7 separate regions of the Homo sapiens genome follow, and all the other regions are linked to region 6. The links are contacts of gene promoters, found by promoter capture Hi-C in blood cells and fetal thymus (Javierre and others, 2016). All regions are on one chromosome and are shown on one strand. Each heading gives the region's core, a stretch centred on a gene start or on the middle of the fragment in contact. The rest is flanking DNA. Distances are from core to core; before and after follow the strand shown.

Region 1 (3,685 bases), core at 1,034-3,533, 1.8 Mb before region 6:
ATCTGTGACACTAAACATCTAGGGAGAAAGCAGGGCTGGGATATAATGTATGTATTTCAGCACAGCAGAAACTACCCTCACCCCATTTTTCCCTTTCCTGCAGAAACCTCTCTCCCCTCCCCTTCCCTCCCCTCTCCTCTCCTTTCTGTATATAGTTCAGCACAGCAAAAACTACCCTCACCCCATTTTTCCCTTTCCTGCAGAAACTTCCTTCCCTTTCCTTTCCCTTTCCCCTTTCCTTTCCTTTTGATACAGGGTTTTGCTCTCTCACCCTGCGTGCAGTGGCACGTTCATCACTCACTGCAGCCTCAAACTCCTAGGCTGAAGCCATCTTCCTCATTAGCCTCCCAAGTGGCTAGGACCACAGGTGCTCACCACCAAGCCTGGCTAATTTTTTTTTTTTTTTTTTTTGAGACAGAGTTTCGCTCTTGTTGCCCAGGCTGGAAGGCTGGAGTACAATGGCACGATCTCAGCTTACTACAACCTCCGCCTCCCGGGTTCAAGCGATTCTCCTGCCTCAGCCTCCTGAGTGGCTGGGATTACAGGCATGCACCACCACGCCCAGCTAATTTTGTATTTTTAGTAGAGACTGGGTTTCTCTATGTTGGTCAGGCTGGTCTCAAACTCCCAACTTCAGCTGATCCACCTGCCTTGGTCTCGCAAAGTGCTGGGATTACAGGCGTGAGCCACCAAGCCTGGCCTAGGCCTGGCTAATTTTTTTACGTTTCGTAGAGACAAGGTCTCACTATGTTGCTCAGGCTGGTCTTGAACTCCTGGGCTCAAGCAATCCTATGACCACGGCCTCCCAAAGTGCTGGGATTACAGGTGTGAGCCACTACACCCGGCCTCCTTATCTCTTTTCTTTTCTTTTCTTTTTTTATTTTTTTGAGACAGAGTCTTGCTGTTGCCCAGGCTGGAATGCAATGGTGTGATCTCGGCTCACTGCAACCTCTGCCTCCCAGGTTCAAGCGATTCTCATGCCTCGGCCTCCCAAGTAGTTGGGATTACAGGTGCGTACCACCATGCCCAGCTAATTTTTGTATTTTTAGTAGAGATGGAGTTTCACCATATTGGCCAGGCTGGTCTGACCTCAAGTGATCCACCCGTCTCAGCCTCTCAAAGTGCTAGGATTACAGGCATGAGTTACTGTGCCGGGCCTCATCCCCTTTCTTTTTTTTTTTTTTTTTGAGACGGAGACTCGCTCTGTCACCCAGGCTGGAGTGCATTGGTGTGATCTTGGCTCACTGCAACCTCTGCCTTCTGGGTTCAAGTGATTCTCCAGCCTCAGCCTTCTGAGTAGCTGGGACTACAGGCATGTGCCACCATGCCCAGCTAATTTTTGTACTTTTAGTAGAGACGGGGGTTTCACCATATTGGCCAGGCTGGTCTCGAACTCCTGACCTCGTGATCCACCTGCTTCAGCCTCCCAAAGTGCTGGGATTACAGGCGTGAGCCACGGCGCCCGGCCTCATTCCCTTTCTAATGTGTGCTGTAACCCTAGTTGATTCTGCTGGGGGAGGATCTGGAATCATCTATTGAGCATCCCACCACTAGAACAAGAGAAGTCATAAGATACCCCATTCTTTCTCCACTTCCAACTCTCCTCAGAGCAGCACGGGACATTCCAGACCCTCTCACCACCCCACCCCCGCCCCTTGCTCCTGTCACGAGGCCCAATCCCCCAGAGCCCTTTCATGTGATGCTCAGCTGAGACCCCTCTGCCTATCTCTCCAGCCCCAGAACAAAAGGTCTGGGCTGTGTTCACCCGTACCCATCCCAAGAGGAGAGGATTGTATCTCCTTAGTGTTCTTACCCAATACCACATTCTCTGACTCCCCACTTTAAATCTCCTACCCCAAGAGACGTTTCCTAAAAGAGTCTCCTGCACATTTCACCCCTTTGGAGCCCGTGCTCCAGCTCACTGCCAAGGAAGCCTCAGAATCAGTGCCACAGAGACCTTCTATCCTTCTGCCCCTCCAAGCATATGAGATTATTTTCAGGCAAAATCCCAAATCTCCATGTAGGGAGGGAGCCCAGGTGCCCACATCCTCACTAAATCAAATGAGTGGGAGACGCCTGAAATATTGCCGCTATCTCCCATTAGGAGGACAGAAACCAGAGCAGGGGGAATTCATCCCCAAGTTCACACCTGCTCATGTCCACATATCCACACATACCTTTTGTAGCCCCCACAGCCAGCAAAGCACCTATCACAGCCAAATGAAGAAGGCATCTTTTTAGCACCAGATCCATTGTGTTCTTCCCTCCAGCAACCAAAGGCACTGGGGGGACTGGGATAGGCCCCTATATAAGAAAAGGGTGCTCATTTGCATAGCCCTTCCTCTTCTCCCTCAGAGAAGGCCTGGGAGGGGCCGGAGGAGAGGAAAAAGGAAAAACTGACAAAGGGATCCTGGTCCCTAGACATTGCTTTCCCATCCTGCTACTCAATGACAGTTTCTGGTTTCACTGGGTCACTCTCATCTTGATGCACTCCCGGGCAAGAGCTAACTGAAAGGCAGCTGCGTAACACATACCAGACACAACAGTTTATCATGGGAGAGTGAATTAAACCAGGAACTTCTCAAAAAGACAGAAACAGAACCCTGCATCCCAAAACAGAGACAGTGTCGGGGTATGCTATGAGGCAGAGGCAACGACTCCTCTGAGGCCCAGGATTCCTTTGCAACGAGATTCCCGGCTTCCTGGTTTCCAAAGGAGGCTCCTGGGCCAGGTGGAATTTAACCTTAGGTCGATACATATTTTCCCCAGGATTGGTGAAAATAGTGAGTTAGAAATCAAGAAATCCCTACAGACTAGAGACATAGGTAGGAAACTTGGACCCAAAGCAGGTACTTGGGAAGAGTGTTCAGCCGCCCCACCGGGGAAGAAACTTGTCTAGCCCCCAAGAACCAAACTTGCCTGGGGCGGGATCATTTGCGGGGAGGAGCGCTGGGCTCGCCCCCCGGCTCTGACGTTGACCAATAGAAAGGCCTGGGGGCGGAGCCAGGGAAACGCGGGAAGCAGGGGCGGGGCCTCTGGTGGCGGTCGGGAACTCGGTGGGAGGCGGCAACATTGTTTCAAGTTGGCCAAATTGACAAGAGCGAGAGGTATACTGCGTTCCATCCCGACCCGGGGCCACGGTACTGGGCCCTGTTTCCCCCTCCTCGGCCCCCGAGAGCCAGGGTCCGCCTTCTGCAGGGTTCCCAGGCCCCCGCTCCAGGGCCGGGCTGACCCGACTCGCTGGCGCTTCATGGAGAACTTCCAAAAGGTGGAAAAGATCGGAGAGGGCACGTACGGAGTTGTGTACAAAGCCAGAAACAAGTTGACGGGAGAGGTGGTGGCGCTTAAGAAAATCCGCCTGGACACGTGAGTGGCCTCTGTACCCGGGACTCCTAACTGGGGACCTCCTTGATTGTCCCCCCCAACCCCCCACGGGCGGGTAGCCGTCCAGGGACCGGAAGAGAGCAGGGAGGGACTTCTTTAGAAGTGGAGAGGTGGGTTGGGGGCCAGTAGAAGGTGAAGAGTATACTTATACTCCCTGGGGAGAGTATAGGGTGGTGTGGAATCCATGGAAAACTTTCTTCCCAAACTGAGCCGGATCGTGCCCCCAAATGTGCGACTACAGACTCGGGGAGAGAAAGGAGGTCTCTGAGATGAGGTCCAAGACTCTCCATGGAGTGGAGTT
Region 2 (3,551 bases), core at 548-3,047, 1.8 Mb before region 6:
AGGAAAATGAAGGAGAAATTCATTGTGAAGATTAAATCAACAGGATCCAAAGACTTACCAAGATGTGAATTAGAGAGGAAATAATCAAAACAGTGACACAGTGGATTTAATCTCGTGCTTTTCACATGTATTCTTATTTTTCTCAATATACGGTAGGGCACATGGTAATCACATTTATTCACACGTGGATTTTAAATTTTTATTGAGCACTTACTCTTGTGCCAGACACTGTAACAGAAGCTAGGAATACAACAATGAATAAAGCAAGCAAGGTTCTTGCCTTCTTAGAGTATACATTCTAGTGAGAAAGATAACAAACAAGAACACAACTATTTATAATTATCACTCTTGAATTTGGAAAATTGGGAAAATAAAAACTACTGATATAAACAAAGTCCACAGGGGAAAACAACTTTGTGGAAACAATTCAATTCAGGCAAGTGTTTTACATGGAATTTGGGAGAAAGGGACAATACTACAAACATATATTTAAGTTGATTGCATAGAGATTATAGCTGAAGGTTTAGGAGGACTAAAGATAGACTGTAATGAAAGGCAGAGCAGAAGCTTCTTGAATGGCCATCCTGTGTGGAAGCCCTCAGAGATACAAATAGCCCATTATCACAAAGGAGCACCTATTTTATGTTATCTTGGTTCCATCCTCTGGCCTTGATGGTATCCAAGGGTGAAGTCAAAAAGAAGGGAGAGGTTTGGCGGTTCCCACCCCTAGAAATAAAAACCAAGGGCAAAATATCAGGACTTTCAGATAATATCTTGCAGAGAGTCAAAAACTAGAGATTGGGGACTGCTACTGTAAGAATCTTTTTAAGCTTTGTCATTTTCTCACATCTGCCGTTTTTTAATTCTCAATCTATTTCCTTAAGTCTGTCAGCAATAAAAACTCTTACACTGAAAGGGTCCTTGTTTCCAGGGGTTGCAGGTAGACAGTGAAAAGACAACATAGCAAGGCATGGAGGAACTCCAAAGAGGTAGGGGACATGGTTGTTAAAGGTATGAGACCTTTTTCAAATAAGAAAAGAGATCTAAGTCACAGGTCTCAGCCTGCGGATGATCTCAGGGCCAAAATAAGACCTGGATGTGGTTTCCAACACAGAGAAAATATAACAAAGAGAAGATGAGAGCTGGAGGAATGACCCTGAAATAATGATCATAATCATTTCCCTCAAGGAAGAAAAGGTGACAGCAACAACAGGAAATGATTCATAGGAAAGGAAGACCAGGACATGCTAAGCCATGGAGACCAACAGTTTTAAATAAAGGTAGGTAGGTGATGGCCGGGCATGGTGGCTCACACCTGTAATCCCAGCACTTTGGGAGGCCGAGGTGGGTGGATCACGAGGTCACGAGATGGAGACCATCCTGGCTAACACGATGAAACCCCATCTCCACTAAAAATAGAAAAAATTAGCCGGGCATGGAGGCACATGCCTGCAGTCCCAGCTACTCAGGAGGCTGAGGCAAGAGAATCCCTTGAAGGCGGGAGGCAGAGGTTGCAGTAAGCCAAGATCGTGCCACTGCACTCCAGCCTGGGCAACAGTCCAAGACTCTGCCTAAAAAAAAAAAAAAAAAAAAAAAGTAAAGGTAGGTGATTAACAGTATTAAATACTGCAGAGAGATCAAGGAAAGGAGAACTGAGAAAAAGGTTCTGGCTTTGGCATTTTGGAAATCCCTGGTTATCTCCACAAATACAGCCTCAGAAAAGCACGGTGGTAAAGAGGCCAGACTACAAATTAAACAAAATAAACATTAAAAGCCTCCTAGCTGGGCTTGGTGGCACACACCTGTAATCCCAGCTACTCGGGAGGCTGAGACAGGAGAATCACTTGATCCTGGGAGGCAGAGGTTGCAGATCATGCCATTGCACTCCAGCCTGGGCGACAGAGCAAGAGTTTATCTTTAAAAAAAAAAAAAAAAAGCCTCCTAGAAGAAAAGTACCGTAAGTGCCAATAGGGTTATCAAGATGAGTAAGATGGTCCCAATTTTCAAAAAATTTACAGACTAAGTAAGGAGGAAGTGGGCAAATTAGGCAAGCAAAGCATAAGACAAAAGTAAGAGTGTCGTAAGTATCCTAAGAGATGACAGGAGATAATCAGGAAAACCTCATTTGACACTAAAGACTAGAAAGTAGTAATAATTAATGATAACAACAAATCAGCAGCCAGTATTTCTGCAGGCAGAGAAAAGGGAAAGGGGATAAGAGGAACAACAAAAGCAAAATCCTAGCAGTGGAAAACTCAGTATTTAAGAATGATTAGTAAAGAGTATTTATTAATAAGTAGCTACATTACAGGAGGAACTTTGTATACATCATCCTGTTAAATCTAAACGATAGATAGATATCATCATTTACAGCCAAGGAAACAGTCTTCAAGAGGTTAAACACATGGTCAAGTCTTGGTGCGGTGGCTCACGCCTGTAATCCCAGCACTTTGGGAGGCCAAGGCGGGCGGATCACCTGAGGTCAGGAGTTCGAGACCAGCCTGGCCAACATGGCGAAGCCCCATCTCTACTAAAAATACAAAAATTAGCCAGACGTGCTGGCACATGCTTGTAATCCCAGCTACTCGGGAGGCTGAGACAGGAGAATTGCTTGAAGTCAGGAGGCAGAGGTTGCAGTGAGCTGAAACCACACCAGTGCACTCTAGCCTGGGTGACAGAGTGAGACTCCAGCTCAAAAAAAAAAAAGACATGGTCAAGATCCCAAAGGTAGCACATATCTGTAACCTGAACTCAAGTCTGATGCCAAAGCTTACACACCATCGCACTGCTGTTCCACATCAGCCATACAGCCCAGTTTCACTAGAGGGTATGGGCAAAAACATAGCATGTGATAATACTACATTTAAAAGTAGTCAGCCAGGCACGGTGACTCACGCCTGTAATCCCAGTACTTTGGGAGGCAGAGGCGGGCGGATCACCTGAGGTCAGGAGTTCAAGACCAGCCTGACCAACATGGAGAAAGCCCCGTCTCTACTAAAAATACAAAAATTAGCCAGGTGTGGGGCACATGTCTGTAATCCCAGCTACTCGGGAGGCTGAGGCAGAAGAATCACTTGAACCCGGGAGGTGGATGTTGCGGTGAGCCGAGGTCAGGCCATTGCACTCCACAGCCTGGGCAACAACAGCAAAAGTCGGTCTCAAAAAAAGAAAAAAAGAAAGTAGTCTGAGGTTGGGCGTGGTGGTTCATGCCTCTAATCCCAACACTTTGGGAGGCTGAGGCAGGCAGATCGCTTGCATCCAGGAGTTCAAGACCAGCCTGGGCAACATGGTGAAACCTCTTCTCTACAAAAATTAGCTGGGCATGGTGGCGCACACCTGTAATCCCAGCTACTTGGGAGGCTAAGCTGGGAGGATCACTTGAACCCAGGAGGTCAAGCCAGCAGTAAACTGCAATCACACCACTGTACTCCAGCCTGGGCAACAGAGTGAAACTCTGTCTCAAAAATAAAAAAAAATTTAAAAAGTAGTTTGTCAGCTGGGCGCAGTGGCTCACCATGCCTGCAATCCCAGCACTTTGGGAGACCAAGACG
Region 3 (3,916 bases), core at 163-2,662, 2.0 Mb before region 6:
TGTAAAACATTCAGAACAATGCCTAGCATATAACTCTTAAGAACAATGCCTAGCATATAACTAACACTTACATAAGAAAATGATGATATAAAAAATTTCCAGATGTGAAAAAAAATCAAGTGTGCACAGTGTGTGTATACGTGTATCTATATATACACATACATACATATACACATGTACAGACCCCATATATAAAATCTTCCAAAAGTATGTACTGTTCTAAAAACCTCAGTAAAGTCAGATCTGAGAATGGATACAAAGAGTACTTAATTCTTAATTGATATACTCCACTATGTACTGACTTTTTACTTGTAAATACACTGCCTTTTATAATTAAATGCACTAACACAACTATGAGGAACAAAAATGTTCAAAGTTTAGGACTCAACGGCTCTTAATGTACTATAGTACAAAATGGCCAGACATTTGTGGAAAAAGCCCCAAATTAAAGATGTTTAGGATCACCCTTGTGGAACAGTTTAAACAAATCAAGATCTACTTTCCATTCTAGCACTTTGTCCTCCCATCCTCCACTGTAAATCAGAAAGCAAGAGAGAACAGAGTGCTACTTCAGAAACATAACCTCTACCCAACACCCTCCTCCCTTACAAAACTCCTTTATATAGAGTGTCACACTTTTTTTTTTTTTTTTCCCGAGACAGCTGTGGCTCCCAGGCTGGAGTGCAGTGCCACAGTCTCGGCTCACTGCAACCTCCACCTCCCAGGTTCAAGCAATTCTCCTGCCTCAGCCTCCCAAGTAGCTGGAATTACAGGTGCCCTCCACCACGCCCAACTAATTTTTGTATTTTTAGAAGAGACAGGGTTTCACCATCTTGGCCAGGCTGGTCTTGAACTCCTGACCTCGTAATCCACCCACCTCGGCCTCCCAAAGTGCTGGGATTACAAGTGTGTGCCACCGTGCCTGGCCTCAGTTTTACACTTTTCCAGAAAAGTGCAAAACTCTTATGAACAGTTAACAGAATGGGCCGGGCACGGTGGCTCACACCTGTAATCCCAGCACTTTGGGACGCCAAGGCAGACGGATCATTTGAGGTCAGGAGTTCAAAACCAGCCTGGCCAACATGGTAAAACCCTGTCTCTACTAAAAATACAAAAATCAGTCGGGCAGTAGTGGCACACACCTATAATCCCAGCTACTCGGGAGGCTGAGGCAGGAGAATTGCTTGAGCCTGGGAAGCAGAAGTTACGGTGAGCCAAGATCACGCCACTGCACTCCAGTCTGGGCAACAGAGTGAGATCCTGTCTCAAAAAAAAAAAAGTTAACAGAGTTTACACAGTTTTACACTGCATACAGAATTGTACAGATTCTCTATAGAGTAACAGAATAATCTATTATGGTGACCCTACAAAAGAACAACAAAGGCTAGGAGAATTAAACTATGTCTGGTCTTGAAGTCACCTGGTCCTCATTACCTATTACATAACTCAGAGACAATTTGCTTTACTTCACTGGGACCAAGTACTTTGAAGTAGTCCCTTCTAAAAAACAAAAAAATGACCTAATCAGAAAGGAAAAGGCCAATGGGAACATGTAAGAGGTAAACAAAGTTAAACATTAAATACATTAAGAAAAGAGCTGCCTGCTCTGTACTCAGATTATAAAAAAGGGATAATTACACATCAACAGTTTTTTCAGGGGGTTCTTCCTCTTTGACAGGGAGCTCAATGGGCTTTGTTTCTTCTTCCTAAAACCAAATGAAACAAGGTGGTTAACATAAATCTAAAGAATAAATATCTATCAAAAGAAGAACATCAGAACTCCAAAATAAACCAGTCTCTCAGAACCTTCATACCCATCTTATGCTCCCCTAATAAATTTACATCTAAGTCCTCCAATGACTGATGTTAAAGCAATGTGGCCAAAGCAGTGGCACATTACCAGAGACTAACCTTACTCTATCCAACTCACCTCTGTTTCATCTCCCAGTACATCTTCTTCATTTGCCTCCTCTTCAGCTAAAGAATATTAAAATATTCAGGTCAAGCCCTGCTACAAAACCATCTTGATCACTTACCAAGGTTAAAATTATAATCACTTTGCTTTCCCCCAAAAAATCCAACAGTGAAGGCAGAAACTGATGCACATAAAATCTGCTACATCTGGAGAAGATAAAACCAGATTTCTACCTAACATTAATTACAAATGTGAACTCCAGTTGGACTGAAGAACTAAATGTGAAGTCAAACTAGAGAATTAATTTTAAAAGTAATGTTGGGCCAGGCACCGTGGCTCTCTGTAATCCCAGCAATCTGGGAGGCAGAGGCAGGTGGATCGTTTGAACCTAGGAGTTCAAGCGACCAGCTTGGGGAACACAGCGAAACCCCGTCTTTACAAAAAACATAAAAAAATTAGCTGGGTGTGGGGGTGTGCGCCTATAGTCTTAGCTACTGGGGAGGCTGAAGTGGGAACATTACTTGAACCCAGAAGGCAGAGGCTGCAGTGAGCTGAGATCATGTCACTGCACTCCAGCCTGGGTGACAGAGCAAGACCCAGTCTTGAATAACAAACAAAAAAAGTATGTGGAAAAGTATCTTTGAGATTTAGTGGTGGGGAAAGATTTGTTTAAAAGAAAAACAACCCAGAACCAAAAGTAAGAGGTGAAAAATTGAAGATTTTTCAAAACTAAGTACTTCTACTTAAGGATAGCACAAAGAAACTTAAAAGACAAATGACAAGACATTTGTTTTTGTTGAGACAGAGTCTTACTCTGTCGCCCAGATAAAGTGCAATGGCACAATCACAGCTCCCTGCAGCCTCCCCCTCCTGGGCTCAAGGGATCCTCCTGCCTTAGCCTCCCAAGTAGGTAGGACTACAGGTGCACATCACCACACCCAGCTAATTTTATTATTTTTCTTAGAGATGGGATCTCACTATGCTGCCCAGACTGGTCTCAAACTCCGGGCCTCAAGAGATCATACCACCTTAGCCTCCCAAAGTGCTGAGTTACAGGCATGAACCACCCCGCACAGCCAAAGAAGATATTTGTGCCTAAAATCAACAAAACAATAGTTATTAGAATATAAAAGAAATGCCTGCAAGCCAACAGGCAAATTATGGGAACCTCAACAGAAAAATGGGCAAAGAAGAAACCCAAAGAATTGTGAAATGTTTAAACTTTTTTCATGGAGAACATAAAACAGCCAACAAATTAGCAAAACTTAGGCCACTTGATAGGACAGTGCCAAGTTTAGGTTTGTGAAGATACAAGAACCCTTATGTACTAGTAATGAGACTGCAGATCTACAGAGCAATTCTGGAAAATAATTTGGGAGTCCTTAGTCACATTAAGTATATATTTATGAATATTAATTAGCAATACCATTCTTGGGCATATACCCCAAAAAGACTTTCACAGGAACATAAGAGCATAAAATAAGTAGTTCATAATAATATACTATATACTATTAGTATATAGGATATAGTATACTATATCCTACAGGTTAAGCATCACCAATCTGAAAATTCAAAACCTAAAATGCTCCTAAATCTAAAACTTTCTGAAGGCTGATATGATACAAGTGGAAAACCCCACACCTAACCTCATGCAATGGGTCACAGTCAAAACTTTGTTTCATGTACAAAATTATTTTAAATACTGTATAAAACTACTTTCAGATATGTGGATAAGAAACAAATAAATTTTGTGTTTAGGCTTGGATCTCACCCCCAAGATATCTCATTATATATATACACAAATATTCCAAAATCCGAAAAAACTAAAATCTGAAACACTTCTAGTCCCAAGCATTTCAAATATATAACACTCAACCCATAGTATAATATATACTATATACTATTATATACATATAGTATACTATAAGTAGTATCACTTATAGTAGCAGAGGCTTGGTGGCAATAAAATTTTCTGTCACCGAGTGAATTAAGTAAAATGTG
Region 4 (3,952 bases), core at 754-3,253, 1.7 Mb before region 6:
AACCCTCGCTTATATGTCTAATAGTTCCTACTGTGCCTGTCTCCCCAGCCTGTGCCCTCGAAGCATCAATGGTGGGCATGGTATGTTCCTGACATGCTCACATGTCAGCTTTAGATGTTCCAACGTCATGGTCAACCAGATGACCATTGAAGCCTGTCTCCCCTTACTGATACTTGCTCACTTTGCCTGGGTGAAGATACATGTTCATATCCTTAAGGAAGCATGAAAATGTTATCTGACTACCTAGAATATTTCCACTTAACGATAACTCAGATTCTGAGGACAAGGCCAGATAAAAGGCCAAATCAGACAATCTTTGAAAGCATAGTGTTTCGTTTGGTTGGGGTGTATGGTAATCCCTCACCTCCCCATGGACCTGCCAGTAGGTCCGTGAATCTTGCTTTATGGTTTGCAGGAGGACTTCAGCTTTCCCTACTAACAGCCTAAAGCCAGAGAATCCAGACAGACCCTTGGGTCATGAGAACAGTCAGATGAGTAGCTCCTGAGATAAAAATAAAATCTTAAAAGAAGAAAATAGCTTTACCATTGGGAAGCAAGAGAAGTTTCACTGGAGCTTCTGGGGTGGGCTTCAGAATGGTGAGAGCTGCCCTCATTTTGGCAGCTTCAGAATTATACCTTGCCCTAGTCAATAGAAGTTGATGTCTCAAACACAAAATATAATGTCTTTGTTGCCCACTGAGTGCAGTTAGTTAGTTGAATTGTAGCTTCTGGGCAATCCCCTTCCTCTGAGTAGGTTAAGGGTAAGGCATATTTCAGGACTTGGCTCAGAAATAAGTCCTGACTTTTTTCCAGTGAAAATGCAACTGAAAGTCTCTTTATGTCCTCTTAGTTTGAAATCTGCAGCTTGAACTTCCCAGCATGGGAGAAACTTATCCCACCTTTCACCGTACCCCCTGCCCCCCCACACACAGTAGTATCCACAAAGGAATTATTTTTTTTCCCCAACTGGCCATCTCTCTCTCTGTCTCTCTCTCTCTCTCGCCACACACACACACACCAAAGAAAAAGAAAGATAGGTATTTCTAGCCTCGTTTTACTCTGTAGGAACAAATAAGAGTGTGGGACCCTGTGAGTGTGGACAATGCCACAGGCAGAGGGACTCCCTTTCTTTATTGGTCTGTTGACTCTGCTGAAGAAAGCTTTGAATTCCAGGCTTTGATTTGCTTCCTCTTCTTAGAAGAGTTATGGACTCTGTTCTGGAAACAGAGAGATAGGTTCAAAGTTTATCAGACAAAGGCATCTAAGAAAGGGTAGTGCTGATATGAATGACCTGGTCCAGCTGCGGGGAGGATCCACATTGTAGGCTCTGATGCAATACCTATGCTGGGGTAGTCCTCAAGCTAAGAGGCCGTTTCTACTTTAGAGACTTAATGACCATCTAGTTTGGTGTTTTCCTCAGGTCCATTATCTCTGAAAAGAGACATAGGAGGAAGAGGATTATTTATCCTCCCATCCATAAGCCTGTGTTTCCAGTTCAAGGATTTAGGTCAGCAAGACGCAGACCCAAAAACCATTCATTTAATAACCCAAGAAAGAAGGCAAGCAGGGTGGCCCAAATCTTCCAACTGGGGCAAGATTTAATATAGTGTTCCAGTGGAAAGAATCTTCTAATGGTAACTTGGACTCTACATGTCCTAATTCTGTTGTTAATGAGATTGATGACTCTGGGCTTAGTTTCTTCTGTTAAAAACTAGGAAATTGTAGATAATCTCTCAACTCCATTTCAGCTCCAGGATTTCTCAGTTCCTGGAGTACCCCTGCCCTAGACCCTCCACATGAAGAAGAGAGTCTTACCAAATTGGATTATCAGAGCAAGACTATTAGCAGAGAAGCCTGAAAACATCTTTCTGGCCCAAACAACAGTGAACTTTTTTGATCAGCATGTATTAGGGACTTTTGGGCACAATTGCAATCAAAGGCAATTGTTCCTGTCTCTTCTACATTTTTTTTGCTACTGTACCCTAGTCAGAATAGTTCACTGAGACTTCCCTGTAATTTCAAACTTCACTTGAGAGTGCTAACCCTGTTTTGGGCATCTTTGGCTTTAAAACTGATTATTATAAAACTCAAATTGAATTTCCCTGCTCTACTTTCTCCACCCCTGCCAAACATACCACTGAACAGCAGTGATTTTGTGAGGCCTTTCTATAAACAGAGAGCTATACTTGGGGGTACACCCAAAAACCCCAAAAAGTATCATCTCCTATGTATCATATCTAGTGATTTAAAGTGTTTAGTTTGGCCCTTTTCCTTAGTTCCTTATGTCCTGAAATGAGACATGGGAGGGATAGGATCGTTTCTTCTCCCACTCATAAACCTTAGCCTTCTCTCTCTTCTGCAGTCTACATGGGGAGGACAGAGAAGCGCAAAGAACAAGAGAAAAGATGCATCCATCTGAGATCTAAAAGGAGACAATGAGGTGATATTTTCCCCCTGCCCAGGTGTTGTGTTTTCAGCTCTTACCCCTTTTTATTTTAGAGACTGGCCATTCCTAGGATGACCTGGGAATTTATCCCCTCTGCACTGCTCCCCAAGCACTTGGATAATGAAGCTGAGCTGTCTTCAACTGTATTATATGTAGACAGAAGGTCACCATCTACAGCCTGGTGAAAAATGAGTCAGACCTTTCCACTGTAAAGACAAACACATGAGCTGAGCTAAGGTTGGTGGGTTTCCTTCAGAGAGCACTAGGTTGACCCTAAAGATAATTTCAGAGCTGCAAATTGCTTGATGTCTAGGTCTTTTTCCTGGAAAGGGGCTTGCAGACAGTGGCTAATTCCATACCTTTCCCTGGCCCCTTTGCGTCTTCTCCCTCCTCAATTATGCAAAGCTTTGATAGAGAGCAGAGCCAGCTATGTGATTTCAACATATTTTTGCTCAGATTTCACTCAGTTCAGGAAGGCATAGACAGTAGAGGATGATGCTGTGGGTTTGCTCTACTTGTAGCACCTGAATGGCTCATACCCAAGGCACATGGGAAGTTCTGTCTTGTTAATAACTACTGCTCTCCACCGCAGAACCCAGGTACTAAGGGAAAGTGGAGAAAATTTTTCTACTTCTGCCTGTTATAGTTTGGGAATAATAACAAAAACATGGTATGGATCCTTGCCATTCTCTCTACCTTCACCATCTTTCCCAACAATATTCTTCTCATGACCTTTTACCCCCTAGGCCACATTAAGCATGTGTTAAATGACTTTTTTTTTTTTTTTTTTTGAGACGGAGTTTTGTTCTTGTTGCCCAGTCTGGAGTGCAATGGCCCGATCTCGGCTCACTGCAACCTCCGCCTCCTGGGTTCAAGCGATTCTCCTGCCTCAGCCTCCTGAGTAGCTGGGATTACAGGCATGAACCACCACCCCTGGCTAATTTTGTATTCTTCGTAGAGATGGGGTTTCTCCATTTGGTCAGGCTGGTCTCGAACTCCTGACCTCAGGTGATCCACCCACCTTGGCCTCCCAAAGTGCTGGGATTACAGGCGTGAGCCACCACACCTGGCCTAAATTACTTTTTTTTTTTTTTAGTGTCTCAGTGTGTTGCCCAGGCTGGCCTAGAACTCCTGGCCTCAAGCAGTCCTCTTGCCTTGGCCTCCCAAACTGCTGGGATTGGCCCTCACTGCTGCCTGTCAGGGAGCCTGGTGGGAAATCTTCTGTCTAGAAAGGATGCCCATTCCTGTTCAAATGTGTTGTAATGTTGATAGGAGAAAGCCAGGGCCATGGAGGACTCTTGTTTATGCCAAGTGGATTCAAACAAATGGGGAAGAGCTAGGCACAGTGGCACATGCACCTGTAGTCCCAACTACTCATTAGGCTGAGGAAGGAGGATTGCTTGAGGCCAAGAGTTTGAGGCTGTAGTGTGCTGTGATTGTGCCCATGAACAGCCACTGCACTCCAGCCCAGACAACATAGTGAGATCTCATCTCTAGTAAATATAA
Region 5 (3,915 bases), core at 54-2,553, 1.8 Mb before region 6:
AGACAGGTTTTCACCACGTTGGCCAGGCTGGTCTCAAACTCCTGACCTCAGGTGATCTGCCCATCTCGCCCTCCCAAAGTGCTAGGATTACAGGTGTAAGCCACCACGCCTAGCCCAAATTGACTAATTGTATGTGTCTCGGTTTCCTCACCTATAAAATATAGAGACTGGACTAAATGACCTCTAGACTGGCTCTGATCTGCCTGACTGACCTTAAGGCTGACAACTGGTACTGGGTTGGACTCCAGTGGCTATATATACCGAGAACTCTGTCTCTGTTGATAGGTGATAGACTTCTGGAGACTTCATATGTATTTGGTTTAGGGACTCAAAGCTAACAAGTGGAAGGGGGCTTGAGGAATGGAGTCTTACTCTAGCTGGGACTGCTAAGACACTTTTACTGTTATGCCTACTTTGCTGCACTGCTTGGGAGAGTTGCCCACATTAAAGAACATCCTCCATGGGTCTCCTGCATCTAGTGGGCTAACCCATGGTCAGGCCTCAATCCTCCCTAGTTAATGGGTCATTTTATAAGTCATTCTTGTAGAGCCGTACTTCTTTTTTTTTTTTTTTGATGGAGTCTTGCTCTGTCACCCAGGCTGGAGTGCAGTGGCAAAGTCTCGACCCACTGCAGCCTCTGCCTCCCAGGTTCAAGCAATTCTCCTGCTTCAGCCTCCCAAGTAGCTGAGATTACAGGTGTCAGCCACCACACCTGGCTAATTTTTGTGTTTTTAATAGAGACGGGGTTTCACCATGTTCGCCAGACTGGTGTTGAATTCCTGACCTTAGGTGATCCGCCCACCTCAGCCTCCCAAAGTGCTGGGATTTCAGGCATGAGTCACTGCACCCGGCAGAGCTGCACTTCTAAGGGAAGTTAAATCTGATTTCTTCTCTTCTGAGCTAAAAAGGTTGAAAGGAAGAGAAACCTGCCCCATCTCCCTTTTTTTTGTCTCGGGTTTGAAGGTAATAATCATCATACCACTTGACTGGTTTACCAAAAAAAAAAAAAAAAATTAGTATTTTTGTGGGAAAAAATGAGAATAGAAAATAAATAATTGAATCTTATATGTATTATTTCATTTCTGTACCACAGAATTTTTGAGAGTCTAGCTATTATATTTTTTAAATGATACCCTTATAAACATGATAAGATTAAAGATCAAAGCTTAGAGGTGGCTCAACAATTGCTGTGAACAGGGAGGAAGGCAGGACATATTCTTTCTTTTTCAGAGGTGGGATCTCACTATGTTGCCCAGGCTGGTCTCAAACTCCTGGGCTCAAGTGATCCTCCTGCCTTGGCCTCCCAAAATGCTGGTATTACAGGCGTGAACCATGATGTGCAGCCAGAACATACTCTTAAGGCTACATATTAGGGTACGAGGTAGTCTTTTCTAAGTCAGTAGTTACTGATCTCTGAGAATCCAAGGTTGCTTAGTAGCAAGAAAGCTTGCTGACCACATCTGGGCTCTGGCTTGACTTCCCATCTCTGAGAGTTAGTGACAGAGACTTTGCAACTCAAGCGTGTCTGCAATTGTTTCCTGTCTTTACACTCCCCCAGAGCTCAAGTGATATGTTTAGCCATGAGAATTCAGTCCATTCTAACTCCCACATTTTCCTTTATTGTAGAGTAGTAACATTGAGGCTTAATATTCTACCCCTTGGATCACATGCTTTGAAATACATAAAAATGTAAGGGAGTAAGTTGAAAAAACCAGTAACTTTTTCTATTGTTTCTTGAGAGTATAGCATATATATGTCACCTGAAGGAAACTTGATCAGCTTATCATCTGTCCTTTTTTTTTTATTATGGTGTCACCTGTCTTCTCTTTTATTTATTTTTTATTTTGAGAGACGGAGTCTTGCTCTGTTGCCCAGGCTGGAGTACAGTGGCATAATCTCAGCTCACTGCAACCTCCGCCCTCTGGGTTCAAGCGATTCTCCTGCCTCAGCTTCCCAAGTAGCTGGGACTACAGGCATGTGGCGCTACACCCAGCTAATTTTTGTATTTTTTAGTAGAGACGGGGTTTCACTATATGTTGGCCAGGCTGGTCTCAAACTCCTGACCTCTCAAACACCAGAGTGAGACTCTCTCTAAAAATGGAAAATAAATTTTAAAATGTTATAATTAAAGATACTCATTTAAATTGAATAAATTTAGCTTTATGAAAAATTTGCTGTATCATCTTTATTTTGATCCTTTCGTCATAGGCCATTGAAAACTTAATCATAAAATGGTACATGTATATCTGAATTTTTAAGACTGACTGACCAAGGGGACTACAGAATACCCAGTAGAATCAAAGTAATTGTCATGTTCCTCTGTATTAATCTAGTCTACTTTGGGACCTTGAGTTCTCACCTCTCATTCTTTTGCTAACTTCCTCTTTACCCTTTAGTTATGTCTCCTTTTTTTTTTTTTTTTTTTTCCAGAGATAGCGTCTTGTTCTGTCGCCCAGGCTGGAGTGCAGTGGTGTAATCAGCTCACTACAACCTTCAACTCCTGGGCTCCAGTGATTCTCCCACCACAGCCTCTGGAGTAGCTGGGATTACAGGCACATACCACCATGCCCAGCTAATTTTTTTAAATGTTTTCTAGAGACTCAGTCTCGCTATGTTGCCTAGGCTGGTCTCAAACTCCTCACCTCAAGCAAGGCTTCCCCTTTTATCTCCCAAACCCCTGGGATTACAGGCATGGGCCGCTCTGCCAGGCCTGTTTTTTCTCTTTTTCTTTCTCTGTACCACTTTCATATTGTGGCTTCTTCCCTGCCCCCGATCTCCCCCCTACCCACCCCAGGTGGAGTCTTGCTCTGTTACCCAGGCTGGAGTGTGGTGGCACGATCTCGGCTCACTGCAACCTCCGCCTCCCGGGTTTAAGCAGTTCTGCCTCAGCCTCCCGAGTAGGATTACAAATGCCGGCCACCAACCACACCCGGCTAATTTTTTTTTTTTTTTTTTAGACTGAGTCTCGCTGTTGCTCTGTCGCCAGGCTGGAGTACAGTGGTGCAATCTCAGCTCACTGCAACCTCCACCTCACAAGTTCAAGCAGTTCACCTGCCTCAACCTCCCAAGTAGCTGGGACTACAGGCACGCGCCACCACGCCCAGCTAATTTTTGTATTTTTAGTAGAGACGGGGTTTCACCATGTTTGCCAGGCTTGTCTCAAACTCCTGACCTCCTGATCTGCCTGCCTTTGCCTCCCAAAGTGCTGGGATTACAGGCGTGAGCCACTGTGCCCGCCTTTTATTTTTTGAGACGGAGTCTCGCTCTGTCACCCAGGCTGGAGCACAGTGGCGCATCAGCTCAGTGCACCCTCTACCTTCTGGGTTTAAGCGATTCTCCTGCCTCAGCCTCTGGAGTAGCTGGGATTACAGGTATGCACCACCACACCCAGCTAATTTTTTTTGTATTTTTAGTGGAGACGGGGTTTCACCATGTTGGCCAGGCAGGGCTCGAACTTCTGACCTCAGGTGATCCACCTCAGCCTCCCAAAGTGCTGGGATTATAGGTATGAGCTACTGCACCCAGGCTGTGGCTGCTTTTTAGGAATATATTGATAACAACTAATATTGAGATATATTTTAATAGCTATTAGCACTATGCTAAACACATCTTTCACTTATTATTTGTAGCTATGAGGATGGTATTTTTTCCATTTTACAAAGGTAGAAGGTAAGGCTTAGAGAGGTAGAGAAATTCTCTTTATATCATATTAGTAATGATTAGTAGCTTAATATTTATTTAGCACTTAGTATCTATCAAATACTTAAAATACTTTAGTTATTTATATGCATTATCTCATTTAATCCTTACAACACCCTTATGAAGTAGGTGCTTATAAGGCTATTATCTCATTTTACAGATGAGGAAATGAATGCACACATATATTTAGTGACTTGCTCAAGGTTCATAGCTAGT
Region 6 (3,769 bases), core at 1-2,500:
CTAGGCCTCTTAGAAACTGGCGCATCAGATCCTAGTTTCAAAGGGGAGGTACAGATGCACTGGAAACTAGGCACCATACCTGAAATCCCAGAAGGTTCTACTACAAAGGTCCCAATCCACCTCTCAATGCCTACCAACCCCACTCACCTTGATCGTTTCGGCTGGCAAGCCTGGTGGGGGTGCCTTGTCCAGATATGTCCTTAGGTCCTGGTCTACATGCTCAAACACCAGGGTTACCTTGATCTCCCGGTCAGTTCGGGATGTGGCACAGACGTCCATCAGCCTGACCAGAGTAAATGCTCACTTTTCAATCCCCTTTAACCCAACATGGCCTCTCATTATTTCCTCAGGGTCCCCACTTCTCTACAGATCATCACACCCCACCTATAGGCTGTCTTTTCCCTTTACTCCCCACGCCCAACCCTCCACCACCTTCTCACCGGACAACATTGGGATGCTCAAAAGCCTCCAGTCGCCTCAGTAAAGCCACCTCACGAACTGTGCTGATGGGAAGGCCTCCTCCACCTCCTCCTCCATTGGGGACTCTCACACTCTTGAGGGCCACAAAGTGGCCACTGTGGGGATCACGGGCCTTGTACACTGTCCCATAGGCACCGACACCAATTTCAGCCACTGGCTCATATCGAGAGGTAGCCATTCTCAGATCAAGGGAGACCCTACAATCACAGACTCCTATCACCAAAAGTCGCTTACAGAGTTAGGATGGTATGAGCCTGCAGCAACAAAGGGACTCCCAAAAAAAAAGCGCAAAGAACACCACCAGCATCCCATCCCCCGCTCCCAGTCTTCCTTGGGGCCGGCCCCAGAGATAACACAATGACTCAATACCAACCCCTCCAGCCACGTGAGGCCCTGCAATAGAAAACGCTTTTTCCTTTGGGACAATCGCGCCCCGCACAAAGATCACACATGACACATGCCTTGCATCGAAGATCCTACACCTCAGTCCCTAAAATTATACTTTCCCATGACCACAAAGGCCCCACTTCCCGCCCTTGAGCGACCCTTCCATAACCAGCTCGCGAAACGAACGCGTGGAAAGCTGTGAGGGGGGCGGGCACTGGTTCTCATTCCTGGGAAGGGACTGCACTTACCTCACGCCAGCCCGGGGTGCTGTGGGGGCGGCCCGTTATCGGGGCCCCGGAGCCGGTTCCTACGGCCCCATACACCCGAGCTCGGTCCGGAGCAGCTGGACGCAGAGGGCCCGACCATAGACACAGGCCGCAAGCTAGAGAGGCCCCCTCACCCCCACCCTCACCATGTGACCAGCTGCCAAAGAGGCGCGCGGAAACTGGGAGGGCGGGGCGAACGCCGGACGTTCTGGGCACGTGACCGCCACCCATGCGCTGAGGGGCGGACAGGAGGTGCTTCGACTGGGAGGAGGGCGAAGAGTGTAAGGGGGCGGAGGGGCGATGGCAGCCACGTGATCTGTTGCTATCACACGTGACCGCTTGACATTGCTCTGAGGAGCAGAGGTGTGGCTACGCGGCGGGCACGTGACTGGCTGCCACAACCCCCGCTGCAGGGGGGGAGCGGTGAGGGGGACAAGAGAGGGTGGAGCCCGAGGCGGTGCCATGGCAACCTAGGCCACCCAGAGCCCAACTCCCGGCTGAAGGATTGTCTCACTACCGGTCTGAAGGCTGAACTCCAGTCTCACTACCGGTCTTTCAGCCTGTCTGCATTGGGGAGGGGGTGGGAGTTGGGGTACCAGAGGTGATGCTGTCACCTTTTCGCTCCACCATGAGAAAACATACTCTCATTTGTGTCATTGTTTCATTCATTAATTCTACAACATTTTACTGAGTGCTTGCTTCCAGTGTGTATGTGGGTTTTTATTTTGTTTTTGGTGTCTGTCACTGGCCCTTTAAAGTAGTGGTACGACTATCTATAAAGATGTAGCCAACAATGGGGTCTTCTACAATAGGGAGTAAACAATGCCCATTTGAGGGCAAAACTACGATTAAAGGATGACGGAAGGCAGATTAATACAGTAATCCAACAGGCTCAGTGACAAGGTAATCCTCTCACTTTTCCAACTTCCAAACCTCCCTGGGAGTGTTAATGCAAAGACCTGAGGCCATCTGGCAGAGAAGTTATTGATGAGCAGGAGACAGGAATACTTGACCTTTTAAGTTTTTTTTTTTTTTCCAGTAGGAAGGTTCTATGATTATGTGATATTTGTATGTGTGCATATATGCTTCTATGTATATATGTATGTATATGATATTATTTATCACATCATATATAAGACGGATACAGGATTGCACATGTGCAAGAAAGTTACCACCACACCCCCTGCACCCTCCAGACCACCACAATGAATGAAAATGACATGCCCCCTTCTGCAAACCTTGTGACTACTCATTTGGAGTTATTGTGCTTCCCTCTTTTTCCCTAGTGCCGCTTTCTTAGCACTTAGCACTGTCCAGAACACACTTGTTCCCAAATGGCCTCTGCCCAGACACCTAGGTAGACACAAGTAGATTTCTCCTACTTTGTTTTATTGGCTCCAAGGTCTTTATCTCCCAGCCCTTTGGGGGTATGGGAGTAAAGGAGGAAAGCGGTTAGTGTCTCATTTGTGAGAATTTGTCTAAAATCTAAAGCCATTTTATTACCCTATTTGCCACTCCTTCCACTCTAACTTCTGTTTTCCTTAACCATCTGGCTGAGAATATAAGAGTTCAAACTAGAAGATGAATATAAACCATGACTTAGAGCAAAATAGAATACATATTAATACAGATGCCTCCTCTTTCCATCCTGATACTTGTAGCCCTGGGCCCCTCCTGGCAAGGGCAGCTGGAACACTAGTAAGAAAAACCTCAAGGACTGAACTGACTAAGGGGCTCAAGAGGTGAATGTTTTATTGGCTACCTTGCTAGGGGTGGGTGCTTTGTAAGCCTTCTGGAAGGCTAAGATAATTGTCTGTGAGTTTTTCAAACTCCCTTCCCACACCAGCATTCCCCACTTCAGCCTCACCTTCCACATAAGACCTTCACAGCTTACTGTCTTTGCAACAGAAGACGTCCTCTCTGTCTGCTTGGGTCCCAGCCCCTTTTTCTGATTCATTCATTAGTCCATCCAAAACATTTGAATACTTCATGGGAACATTACTGTCTCTCCATCACTTTCTATTGAGGAACCTTAATTTGGCAGTCTGTCCCAGGCTCTGTCCCCTCCCTTCTTCTGTTAATTACTCTTTCACTAATTAAATTTTTTCCCAGTATGTTTGACCCAATGAGCTCCCCTGGAATCCCTTTTCCCTCAGCTTTGCAAAGGGGAGGAGAGGGAGAATGTAAGTGTAAGAAAGAAAAAAATGTGATGGGGGTAGAACTTGGCCTCAGAGGGAAGTCTCCATAAAAGGAAAGGGGTAAGTGTGTGTATTGTTCACTTCAGTGTAGTGGAGGTGAGGGCAGGAGAGTACCAGGAAAGACACTCCCATCCCTTTAGCACGCCTACCTCCCCTGCTCCCTCCCTCACCTCCTTCACACATTACAATCACAGGCTTCTGTTTCTCAGACAATCCGATTCCATTCCTTACACACCTCTCTTTCCCAGTCCCCATCGATCACACTTTTCAGCCCTTTGGGTAAAGTGTATATTGCTTGAGTCCCACCCCTGCCCATGTACCTCCCTCACACCTCCGACACTTGCACAGCTCTTTCTTTGCACATTCCCATTTTGCACAAGCCTCACCCTCCCTGGTACACCTGCGTCATTTAACCACTCACCTTCCATGCTCACCCGC
Region 7 (3,714 bases), core at 49-2,548, 1.9 Mb before region 6:
CAAGTTAACAATAACTCCAGAATAACACAAAAACCCACTAACAGAGTTTAGAATCCAAGAGTAAGAAAAACATCAGTTTCACAGAAAGACTAATTGGGGTCAACTAATAAGTGACTAAAGAAGGGTCCTCTCCCTACCCTTACTACCCTTAAGCTTTCTTAACAGCAACAAAAACAAAAAAAAACTTTTCGAGCTTTAAAGGATCACTTTTCAGTTTCAGCTATATCAGCCTGGTTTGTCCAAAACATCTAATGGGAAAACTACTTGTGAAACCACAAACAGACAATTACTCAAGATATCTTAATTTACCCTAAAAGAAAATACTTTTTAAAATGTTCTTCTTTTTAATATATTTTTTTAACTTTTTTATATATCTAAGTGTGAAAAAACTACCAAGAGTCTCATAAGACAATTTAAAATAGCTTCTGTGATTCAGTGTCAGCCAATGGTAACACCAGGAGATGCAGGGCCCACCCGAGATATGAAATGGAACAGAGATAATCTTAACCTTGGAATTGTTTTTCCCAAATATTGCAGGTGTGAGTTCTCTCTGGTGGTTGGAGATGGTGTGTGAGGAAGGCTGGCGGGCCGAGAGCCGCGTGACAGAACTCGAAAACTTTTAAATCTGAGGTGTCTGTACTTCTACTATTCTCAAGACCTCCTCAACCCCAGGCTTCTAAGGCGAGACCGATCTTCTGAGAGGCCTCTCCCTGTTTCAAAATTCGGCTTGGGGCGTAATCCCACCTAGAAAAGGGGAGTGGAAGTATTTTCTGAGTGTCTGGTACCTATTTAGACAGAAATACACAAAAATGCCACCATTTGCTAACAGGGAAATCTCAGCTTCGGACGACAGACTGGAAACATCATCCCAGGGAAGAAAAACGGATCCTGGCTCCGACATGGGGCAAAAAGGAGGGACCAACTGACGTAATGCAGCCCTGAAAAGCAACGAAGAGTATAACAGGTAGAAGGCACTTACACAACCCAGTGGGGAAGGGTGACGGACGATACAATGATGAAGGAAGCAGAAATAACAAATAAATATAGCAGTAAAGCCGTGAGGAGAAATGGGAAATTAGGGAAGGCGTAGTGTGGAAGGGTGGCACAAAAGAGCTACGGCGGGAGCCGAGAAACGAAGTGGAAAAGGCTGCACGGAGAAGACGTAGGAGAAGGCGCAAGCTACCCTGTAGAATTCAGTTCCTAGAAAAGTCCAACTCAGCCCTTCCCCGATTCACGGTACCTTTAGCTTATGGAGCTCCACCGTCTCGGTCGCCATCTTGTTACCCCTCACTCCACTAGGCCCCCACCCGCGGCCTCCGCCTCCAGGAGCTCCCGCCTTAGGCGTAGAGATGCAAGGCTGACCAATCGTTGTCACTCTTGCTCCCACGCCATACCATCAGCTCTTCCCATTGGTCAATAGCTGACGTCGCTCTCACTTCTCTAGGCAGCTTGCCCCACCTCTTTCAAAAGGTGGAACTGGGAGAGGGGCGGGCACTGTATCTTGCGAACGACAGAAATGGCAACCAACTGTGCTTCTGCATTACAGACCACCAACCAATGGGTGGTGGCAGCGCTGATTCTGTTCCTCCAATAGGAAAGGGGCAGAAGGAGAGGCGTTACTTCCTGGAGACTTCAGGTGTGGTAGCCGGCGCCGCGCCCATAGCCGGACGGGGATCTGAGCTGGCAGGTAGGAGCTGCAAAGACTGTAAGGGTTGCTGAGGAAAAATGGTGGGAGGCGAAAGGGGCGCCGAGGGAGTGGTGACCTAAATACTGAGAGGGGAGCGCTGAAGGGAGCCCTGAAAAAACCGATGAACATGAGGAGGAAGCTGGGAGGGGCATGGGGCGGGCTTAAGGAACTGGCGGTGGGGCTGGGGCGGGCAAGAGCCGCTTCCTAACCAGACATCATCAGCTTTAGAGCTACCACAATTTTAAAGATCCGAGTTCAGATAATCACTGCTGCCCCTGGAGTCAGAGCCAAGGCTCCACCTTTCGAGGTATTGAGCTCAGGTCCCTTCCTAACCCAGTCCAGAAGCCGTGGGCAAGTTGTTGTCGTGCCCCACGCTTGAGAGAAGTAATGGGGATGCAGACTGTTTACATGCCACGGAGGTGAGAGAGAGGGTGGACAAGCCCCAGAGAACAAAGTGGGGACCAGAGTGAGCTTTACTCTGTCATCCCTTCTTAGTGGTTCTTTGATGATTCCATGACTTTCGCCTGGAATTCTGGGTGTACGTGACCTCTTCATGGTTATTAACTTCTTCAGCAAAGTCAGATACTCCTATTTCCCTTGCTCCCTGAAGTGAGTGCCCCAAGCCTACACATACACCTTCATGTTACAGTTGACGTGTAAAGATCAGAGCAATAATGACTATGTCTCTGAAATGTAGTGAGGACTCTTCTTGTCTTTTAAAGTTTTCCCCAAGTCTTCAGTTTTTATTTTCTGCGTGATGGGTAAGTTCTTCATTCCCAATAGAGTTCAGGGGATTGGGGCTATCTGAGAGACAACTGGGAGATAGCTCAAGAGGGGTTGAGAAAAAACTGAGCTGGACTCCTGCCTGATCCCCCATTACGGCTAGGATGAATGTGGGGGTGGCACACAGCGAAGTAAACCCCAACACCCGAGTGATGAATAGCCGAGGCATCTGGCTGGCCTACATCATCTTGGTAGGATTGCTGCATATGGTTCTACTCAGCATCCCCTTCTTCAGCATTCCTGTTGTCTGGACCCTGACCAACGTCATCCATAACCTGGTGAGCACTAAACCACGCCCTTGTACCCACCCCAGGGTTTCCCAACCAAAAGCAAAATAAAATCACCAATTGTTTGGGGATTTATGTGTTCCTTTTGGGATCTTAACATAATTCTTTGACTGAAAAACTACTTTCTGCCCCTCACACTGCCACCTTCCCTGTTCCCAGGCTACGTATGTCTTCCTTCATACGGTGAAAGGGACACCCTTTGAGACTCCTGACCAAGGAAAGGCTCGGCTACTGACACACTGGGAGCAAATGGACTATGGGCTCCAGTTTACCTCTTCCCGCAAGTTCCTCAGCATCTCTCCTATTGTGCTGTGAGTCTATGGGGGAAATGAGATATGCTGGGTTAGAAAGAGCTCCAAGAGCCAGGTAGAAAGGCCCATAGGGAAGCTGTTAAAAAGCAGACTTCTCATCTAAAACCCTTTGAAGATATTATGGTATACTAGTTCTAAGCCTACAGAGAGCAGTAAAATGTAGATTACAGTCAATACTGTAATCAAGCATTCCTTGCTGCCTCCTTGGTAGTAAGGAAATGAAGGGACTGAGAAAAGATAAGTGCCAAATAAAACCAAATGATTTTACACTGCCAAAAGAAGTAAATAAAGGCAGAACTGATATTAATCTTCAAAAACACTGTAGGGAGTGGAAGCAAAGAGGACTGTAACAGTCATACAGACTGAAATAGCTTGAGCCGTCATTTGCCATGTCATTAACAATTAACAGATACTGACTTACAGTCTCCAGTTAAGGGTGCTATCTCCTGAACCCCAAAGTAAATGCTGTTGATATAGCTGGAATAGTTTTAGATAATCTAGAACTATATACAGTAAAACTGGTCATTTAAAATAGAAGAGAAAGAGCAGGGCACTGTGGTGCATGCCTGGAGTCCCAGCTACTTGGGAGGCTATGGCAGAAGGATTGTTTGAGCCCAGGAGTTTGAGGTTGTACTGCACGTATCAC

Evidence for each region. Contacts are between HindIII fragments. The CHiCAGO score rates a contact against its expected background, and 5 or more counts as called.
Region 1: the fragment with the promoter of PMEL here is called in contact with the fragment with the promoter of CDK4 in region 6 in 1 of 17 cell types (monocytes); the score reaches 5.2 in monocytes.
Region 2: a contact is called between a fragment that was not itself captured here and the fragment with the promoter of CDK4 in region 6, in 1 of 17 cell types (monocytes). The highest score is 7.5, in monocytes.
Region 3: a fragment that was not itself captured here is called in contact with the fragment with the promoter of CDK4 in region 6 in 1 of 17 cell types (monocytes); the score reaches 7.3 in monocytes.
Region 4: a fragment that was not itself captured here is called in contact with the fragment with the promoter of CDK4 in region 6 in 1 of 17 cell types (monocytes); the score reaches 5.6 in monocytes.
Region 5: a contact is called between a fragment that was not itself captured here and the fragment with the promoter of CDK4 in region 6, in 1 of 17 cell types (monocytes). The highest score is 5.9, in monocytes.
Region 7: a contact is called between the fragment with the promoter of SARNP here and the fragment with the promoter of CDK4 in region 6, in 2 of 17 cell types (activated CD4 T cells and total CD4 T cells). The highest score is 6.2, in activated CD4 T cells.

Annotation. Positions count from the first base shown.
Region 1 is chr12:55,963,759-55,967,443 of GRCh38, forward strand. It overlaps PMEL (premelanosome protein), which reads right to left and starts at 2,284. Exons shown (of 11, transcript NM_001384361.1): 1 at 2,178-2,284. The coding sequence starts at 2,253. It overlaps CDK2 (cyclin dependent kinase 2), which reads left to right and starts at 3,072. Exons shown (of 7, transcript NM_001798.5): 1 at 3,072-3,366. The coding sequence starts at 3,251. RefSeq lists an enhancer at 2,763-2,842. The HindIII fragment of the contact is 16,386 bases long and covers 1-3,685 here.
Region 2 is chr12:55,913,641-55,917,191 of GRCh38, forward strand. All of the region lies in intron 1 of PYM1 (PYM1 exon junction complex associated factor), which reads right to left. LOC124902941 (a long non-coding RNA gene) reads right to left here. Exons shown (of 2, transcript XR_007063325.1): 2 at 186-726. Among named protein-coding and RNA genes, the nearest start is that of PYM1, 12 kb to the right of the region's middle. The HindIII fragment of the contact is 1,939 bases long and covers 829-2,767 here.
Region 3 is chr12:55,798,924-55,802,839 of GRCh38, forward strand. It overlaps SARNP (SAP domain containing ribonucleoprotein), which reads right to left. Exons shown (of 11, transcript NM_033082.4): 3 at 1,931-1,977; 4 at 1,639-1,706. Among named protein-coding and RNA genes, the nearest start is that of SARNP, 17 kb to the right of the region's middle. The HindIII fragment of the contact is 8,110 bases long and covers 1-3,916 here.
Region 4 is chr12:56,009,055-56,013,006 of GRCh38, forward strand. LOC105369781 (a long non-coding RNA gene) reads right to left here. Exons shown (of 3, transcript NR_135023.1): 2 at 2,485-2,624; 3 at 1,038-1,217. It also overlaps a transcript of IKZF4 not described here. Among named protein-coding and RNA genes, the nearest start is that of IKZF4, 10 kb to the right of the region's middle. The HindIII fragment of the contact is 1,691 bases long and covers 1,159-2,849 here.
Region 5 is chr12:55,981,249-55,985,163 of GRCh38, forward strand. The region is part of intron 1 of RAB5B (RAB5B, member RAS oncogene family); the gene reads left to right. Among named protein-coding and RNA genes, the nearest start is that of RAB5B, 9.1 kb to the left of the region's middle. The HindIII fragment of the contact is 281 bases long and covers 1,164-1,444 here.
Region 6 is chr12:57,751,060-57,754,828 of GRCh38, forward strand. It overlaps CDK4 (cyclin dependent kinase 4), which reads right to left and starts at 1,251. Exons shown (of 8, transcript NM_000075.4): 1 at 1,116-1,251; 2 at 441-677; 3 at 148-283; 4 at 1-31. The coding sequence starts at 658. RefSeq lists silencers at 401-540, 1,271-1,350, 1,581-1,700 and an enhancer at 877-1,610. The HindIII fragment of the contact is 8,675 bases long and covers 1-3,769 here.
Region 7 is chr12:55,816,426-55,820,139 of GRCh38, forward strand. SARNP (SAP domain containing ribonucleoprotein) reads right to left here and starts at 1,299. Exons shown (of 11, transcript NM_033082.4): 1 at 1,241-1,299. The coding sequence starts at 1,276. It overlaps ORMDL2 (ORMDL sphingolipid biosynthesis regulator 2), which reads left to right and starts at 1,616. Exons shown (of 4, transcript NM_014182.5): 1 at 1,616-1,687; 2 at 2,574-2,748; 3 at 2,917-3,068. The coding sequence starts at 2,575. The HindIII fragment of the contact is 4,326 bases long and covers 152-3,714 here.